Regions from separate parts of the Homo sapiens genome. Here region 2 is linked to region 1. Evidence: promoter capture Hi-C in 16 types of primary human blood cells and fetal thymus (Javierre and others, 2016). All regions are on one chromosome and are shown on one strand. The core of a region is centred on a gene start or on the middle of the fragment in contact, and the rest is flanking DNA. Distances in the headings are between cores, read along the strand shown. Region 1 holds the start of STK38L (serine/threonine kinase 38 like). Region 2 holds the start of IRAG2 (inositol 1,4,5-triphosphate receptor associated 2).

The links. Contacts are between HindIII fragments. The CHiCAGO score rates a contact against its expected background, and 5 or more counts as called.
Region 2: a contact is called between a fragment that was not itself captured here and the fragment with the promoter of STK38L in region 1, in 1 of 17 cell types (naive CD8 T cells). The highest score is 5.8, in naive CD8 T cells.

What each region holds. Positions count from the first base shown.
Region 1 is chr12:27,242,954-27,246,298 of GRCh38, forward strand. STK38L (serine/threonine kinase 38 like) reads left to right here and starts at 1,333. Exons shown (of 14, transcript NM_015000.4): 1 at 1,333-1,379. RefSeq lists enhancers at 44-103, 2,692-2,741 and a silencer at 1,162-1,401. The HindIII fragment of the contact is 3,512 bases long and covers 139-3,345 here.
Region 2 is chr12:25,051,146-25,054,433 of GRCh38, forward strand. It overlaps IRAG2 (inositol 1,4,5-triphosphate receptor associated 2), which reads left to right and starts at 1,561. Exons shown (of 22, transcript NM_001366544.2): 1 at 1,561-1,811. RefSeq lists enhancers at 916-1,025, 1,066-1,435. The HindIII fragment of the contact is 1,768 bases long and covers 905-2,672 here.

The DNA of each region.
Region 1 (3,345 bases), core at 83-2,582:
TCATATTACTCTAGTATGGCACATTTGAAGACATAAATTTGCTGTGGAACAAACCATACACTGTTCTCAATCTTATCGTAGCATTTGAATGGTATGTGTATGCGTGCAGTACAGGGAGAAGGGTGTATAGGCCTGTCAAGCTTGTCTGATCACAATTAAACCTCCTATGCTTGTATATGACAACTGTCATTTGAGTTTCAAAATGACCATATAAGTGGAGCTGATCTCCCCAAAAATACACTAATTACCAAACTAGAGCTTTTCCCACTACTAAGCTATGTATGAAAAAGCACAGTGTAAGAAAGAGAAATGAGGTAATGCTTCTTTCCTAGGTGTTTTGCTCGTGTCACCTGCTCTTGGGAAACCTAAAGATGACAGGTGGCATTTCTAAGTGATAGTTTTTGCAAGCACAGTACCAGCTTCATACGTTGTCTCAGTAAGCTAAAAGCTAAGAATATTTTATAAGACCTCCAATACTCATATTGAGGATAAACTTGCCAACAATAATTGGGAGTCATTCTCTCATTTGGCTTTCCCAAAGGCCAGTTTTGTCCCCAGACGCAAATTGCATCAACCTTCCCAAAGTTGTCCCTTTTGGGTCATCCTATAGGGGAGTGCTCTTCTGCACAATTCTCAGATCCTACTGATAAAGCAGGCCAGTACTGTAGTTATTTTAGATTTTCCAAGAAAACTCAAACAGGTTTTTAATGTATTTTTTGTGGCATTTACAAATCCTGGTTCCTCTCCAGTCTCTGGAGTCCCCTCATGGTGAAATGGAAGCGTCAAGGAACCTGGGTGGCTTCGAGTCCCCACAGCTACCGACTGAGCAACTTAGCTGATCCATCTTTGTTGACAACTGTTTCCCAATCTGAAAAATGCGTGAATTCTCTCTTTCCATTTCTAACATTCTTTGCATTGCACTGTTTGAAAAATTCGGATGACATTTAGAATGTGACTAATGTCGCAACACATTAGGCCACTCTCAAGAGAGGCCTGAACAGGTTTGGCGTAAAAACGGCAGTGAGGTGAGGCTGGTGAGAGGGGAAGTGGCGACAGTTCAGTCAACTCCCTCAAAACCAGTCTGGCCTTCACCAGGCGGAGATGGGTGGGGCCGGGAAGACGGGCGTTGACGACAGAAGGCTACTTCCGGCTGTGGTGCGTATGACGTCAGGGCGAGTCGGACCGACCCAGCCACCGAGAAGCCGAGGAGGCAAGGCTCGCGAGAGTTCAGGGAGGCCGCCCTGAGATTCCGGCGAGGCCGCGGGTCCCACCTCCCGGGGGCGGGGCGAGGGCGGAGCGGGGAGAAGGGAGCTGACGGGCGCCCGGCCGGCTGCGGTCCGTGCGGAGGCTGAGCCGGCCGCGGGCGCGACCGGAGGCAGGTGAGTTCGCGGATGTAGCGCTCGGCTGAGGGCCCGAGCTCGCCGCGCCAGCCCCAACTCTGCGAGCAGGAGCAGGAGGAGATTTTAGGTGTCTTTGGGTGTCCAGGGAAAGCCGGGCTAATTCTGGGGCTGGAAATGTCTCCGGGGAACCTGCGGCGACGGCCTTGGCCCTCTTATTCCCCGGGGTGATACTGGCCCCATGTGTCCAGAGAGGGAGCCTCGCACCCGGGGAGGAATCTTTGTCCTCTGCTCCTTTCTCCTTCCACTCCCCGGCCCCCGAGCACTCCGCTCCGGGTCCCCGCCTGGGCTTCACAAACAATAACAAATGTCGCGGATCCTCTCCGGGTAGCCCCAGCGCTCCCGTCCCGTGCCCTCCAGCCGATGTCACCCAGAGCCAGGATCCGAAGCATGGCTCTTCAATTGTGGGGGCTGTTTGTGTACCGTTCCTAAAAACTGATGCGTCAGATTGCCAAACATTTCTCAAGACAGACTCAGGAAAGCCTCCCAGCTCCTAGAAGCCACGGAGTGCTCAAAACCAGTCTTAGAATCTGTCTTTACCATTGCACCCGTAGCCCCTTCCTTTCAAAATCATTTCTCCCACTCCTTTTTTCACCTTTAGTATCGAGGTCGAACGAGTGGTTATTTGGTGTGGGAGTAGAAAAGAGTATAACCGATTGAGTAGGGCACGTTTCACCTTTAAAAAGTTGCCAGGTTGACAGCAAAAGAACAAACTTTATTTTCAAAACCAGTGGCCTCCCCTTTTACTGGTGCTGCTTTTGTTTTGTGGAATAGCTTTTCGGGTTCTAAGTTTGGAGGAATGATATAAAAAGAAGTGGGAGGTGGGGGGAGGGCTAGTGGCTCTGGAAGTAGTGGCTTGTCCAAAAGTAGGATGCTATTGTTTCTCACTTGATAAAATGCAGAACCAACACTTTTACCCATTTCACATAACTTGTGATAAGTTTTGAGAGAAGCCACTTAATCGGAAATGGCCTATTAGCTTATTTTACTGCTCAAATCTGAAAAAACAGCTTTAAGTGATTTAAGTTCTGCCTCTTGATTGTAAGATGGGGATTGATGAGTGAGACCTTGTCTTTTTTGGCGCTGGGGCTTACGTTTGACCGGTCTCTCTACTTTAAGGCAGGGCCTATTGTACTTAAGCCCATTTTTGCTTCCTCAGTACAGATTCTTGAAAGTTCTTTGTCTCAATCATATATGTATATAAGGTACTGTAAACCTCTTTGAATTTGATTGGCCTTTCTCTCTGTGCCTCAGGATATGTAAAACAATTAAGTTTATTATACTCTCTCCCCAGTGGCTGAGAGGTATTGTATGTGAATTAGCCACCCTTGTGACTATTTGAGGAGAGAGAAGTTAGTCTAAAATATTATGTTAAATTATGATATTACATAATTTTATTGCATAAGTTCATCAAACTACTTCCATCTGAAAAATCCTGATCTCAAAATAGGTAGGTACAATGAATTAAAAAATGTTTTGGTTTGACCTCACTTAGCTTTGTTTTCTCCTTGTTAAGATGGCTGATAATGTTTCCCATTTGGTTGTGATGTGTTTAGAATGAGAAGCAAAGTTGGGTGTAGTTTTTGTACTCTTTTGAAAGGCCTTGCCACTAGGAATGAAAAAATTAGACTTAGAAAACACACATTAAATAGAAGCAGTTTTTCTCTAGCCATTTGCTCTTGAGTTTGTTTTAAAATAAGTCAAAGAATGGAGACTGAGATGATTTGTGCCAACAAATAGATGTCCTTGTTAGTTTTTATGCTGAAAACTTGATTTCTAAAGGTAGGACACTGTAAGAACAAAGGAGAAATTGGACTTCCTAAAAAATGATAACAAAGCAATGGACTCAGTTCAGCTGTTTGCTTTCAGAAAAGTTCTGTTCTCTTAAAGTAAGGAGAGCATCATTGTGTTAGTGAAATTGGATAACGCACCTTAGAAAGTGCCTCCC
Region 2 (3,288 bases), core at 539-3,038, 2.2 Mb before region 1:
GAAAAAGAGAGAAAAAGAGAGTGAGAGAGACAACGATAAGCTATTGAAGGACGCTCAGTGGAAAGTGTGGTGATGTAGGCAGTTTTTATTTTTGCTTAGGATTTTGTTTGCTTGTTTACCAGTATGGTAAGCATTCTGTGAGACCATTCTTGCCTCTCATGTGGTCCTTCGTGTAACCAGGGCTGGATTTGTGCCAGTGTGCAGTGGCATTCTGACTAAATGTTAACGTTTGAGAGGCATGCACAAGGCCTACGGCTGACAATGTCTTCCTTGCTGTTTTGCAACTCCCGACATTTATCACCACTTTGAGTTAAGGTCCATATTCAAGTCAGATTGTTTCCAGATAATCATTGAGGTACTGGCATGTAACACACATTAAATAATCTCATCTGCTAACAGAGAGTAAGTGCATTTTTACATGTTTTAGAGATTAGAATTGGATCCAAATGAGGTGTAACGTAATGGCACCATGAGATCTGTGGTGGGGAAGGGTGATGGGGAGAAAAGCTTCAGCAAAAAGAGGACTAAAGTAGAAATATCAACCGCCAGCTTTCATCTGTGCCTGGGGGCGGTCCTTCCTGTGCTCGTGGCACGTGTTTATACTATGATTGACAACCCTTAAGGAGAAAGGCTAAGGTCATGAAACAAAGCTCTCTTTCCTTTTCTTTTCCCTCCCCCTACCTTTACCCCATTCCTTTCTTTTTCTGTAAAAGCTAGCTGTGATGTGTAAATGTTGCACCTGTCACCCTGACCTCATTGTAGAGCCATCTTCTGAGTAACTGGCAACTGGCAACTGATGCTAAGTGCTATGAATGCAGCTGGTGGGAACTGAACACACCAGTGTAAAAGATGAAACTAGAAGTCCTTATCTGTAAAGTGAGGGTGTCAGGCTAAGCGACCAATAAGCTTTGCTTAAGATTTTATATTTGTGAAGCATTTATATGTAAATACTTTCACTTTTTCCTCTGATCTCTAAGGAAGTGGTGTTAAGTTTGAGTTTGTCATAATTTCACAGGGTGACTCTTAGTTGAAATGTCACTGACAGCTTGCGGTTTGGACTTTTTTTTTTTTTTTTTTTTTTAACTCCAGTCAGAAACAACTAGAAGCCATTAAACAACTACAGGAAGATGCTGTCAACCAGGAAGGCATCCTTAGGAAGAGGCTCCAAGAAACCAGCCAACGGCTGGAGGATGTGGAGGAGCAGGTAGGGTGGCTCATGGCTACATTAGATTCAGGGGACATCTCCTCAGATGCCCTGCAAACCATGAAATAAAAATGGAGGAGGAACAACAACAACAAACAAAAAAAAAAAGCAAAGAGGAACTGCAAGTTCAGTCCCTAGCGACTAACAGTGAGCAGAGGAAGTAAAGGGGGAGTTGTAAGAGAGGCGGTATCAACAGCCTGCTGATGAAAGAGGCGACTCTGCAGAAAGAGGCAACTTGACATATCAGGACTTTAACCGCTGTAGAAATAGCTCAGGCATACCAAGCCCATGCAAACACAGAATTGCAGAAGTTCAGGAGAGGCTTATCACTTCCCTGAGAAGAAAAACACATTTTCAGTTTTGCCTGCATCATAAGAGTGAGCACTCCATTGCTTTCTTTCCTGGCCACACTGCTACAATCCAGCACTAACTATCCATGTCCAGGGTAAGGATCGAGATCGAGAAGCCCACACTGCCAGTGAAAAAGCTACGTCTTTACTGCATAAATTAGAGGAAGCAATTTCGGAACAACGGAACCTTCAAACTATAAATACTGAATTATCGAACACTTGCCAGGCACTTCAGCAGAAGACAAGGAAACTGAAGAGTGAGTAGCAAATATTCATTTATGACCCAGTTTTTGTCCACCCTCAGGCGGGGCATAGGACTACAGACATTTTTCTAGATTACAGCTAGGATATTATTCCTGAGTTTATGACAATGAAATGGTTTGAGAAGGCAATATTGTGGGGCTTTCAGAGAGGTTTGCTGAGTGGCTAGGTGCATGCATGGGTTTAACCATTAACTTCCCTTTTTGCCTTTTTATTATAAGCTGGTTTTGTCTGTGGCTGTTTTTTTCTTTTAAAATTAATTAAAACTTCTCAAAATTTCTAAAAGTAAACAAGGAGAAAAATCTAGTATGCATGGTATATTTGAACTTGCAAGTTGTTATATATTATACTCTGATTTTATTAGCTAGTTTTTTTCCTCTCATATGGTAGAAAAGGCCTTGCTCGTCTATTTTCTTTGGAAATTTTAGGGGGTTGGGCAAAATAATTATGAATTCAGTGTATATCAAAATATCAAATGTGTGAAAATTCTTTTAAAGTTTTAATGCATTCTCTACATACATCTACATACATATTTTGCATTTTAAAAATTGGAATATTTGTCATTTTTCTGTATTACCCAAAAGTATATAAACAGTTACCAGAGATTTATGTGAGAAGACAGTTGTCACATTACAGATGTCAGATTAGCTATAAAATTGTTTCATTCTAGAAACCTAATATGGTAAAAATAAACCTTACTTATTTAGCCATTTATCAGACAATTGCTTTTGTTCAGCCAGTTTCTTGTTCTAGCAGTATAAATATTCTTTTTATAGAAAGTTACTTGGTTTGAGAAATAAACATTGTTTATTTGTTAATTGTTATATAATTATAAATAATTATATATTTAATATATAAGCTTAAGGTAGGCTAGAGATGAAAAATTTCAGACTTGTGTTTGTTTTGGATTTATTGTACCCTTTCTACTATTATCTGAGAAAGCTATTTAGGAGTTTAAGAAATAGTCTAGTTTTAAAATAGCAATGGTTTGCCGGACACAGTGGCTCACCCCTGTAATCCCAGCATTTTGGGAGGCCGAGGTGGGCAGATTGCTTGAGCCCAGGAGTTTGAGACCAGCCTGGACAACATGGTGAAACCCTGTCTCTACAAAAATTACAAACAAATAAATAAATAAAACATTAAAATAGCAGTGGTTATTCAACATATTATTGTCATAATTTTTAAACCTTTATTGAATTTGCCAGTTTTCAATATTCTGATTCACTCTGTTAAGCTAGTAAGGCAGTCTTTAAATTACACAGTCTGTGTGTTATTTTACTACTGCTCAGAGGGCATTGGAGAAGGTTCCCTTGTGATTAGAACTGTTCATGTTGAGACATGAATCATAAGGCATTCCAAAGTTGGTTTAAGGTGTGTCTGCTTTAGACACTGTGCCCAGGACTATTCTTTTGCTCCAGTTTTGCCTTTTGATTAAATCAATATTATACCTGAGTTTTATAAACTACTAAGAAT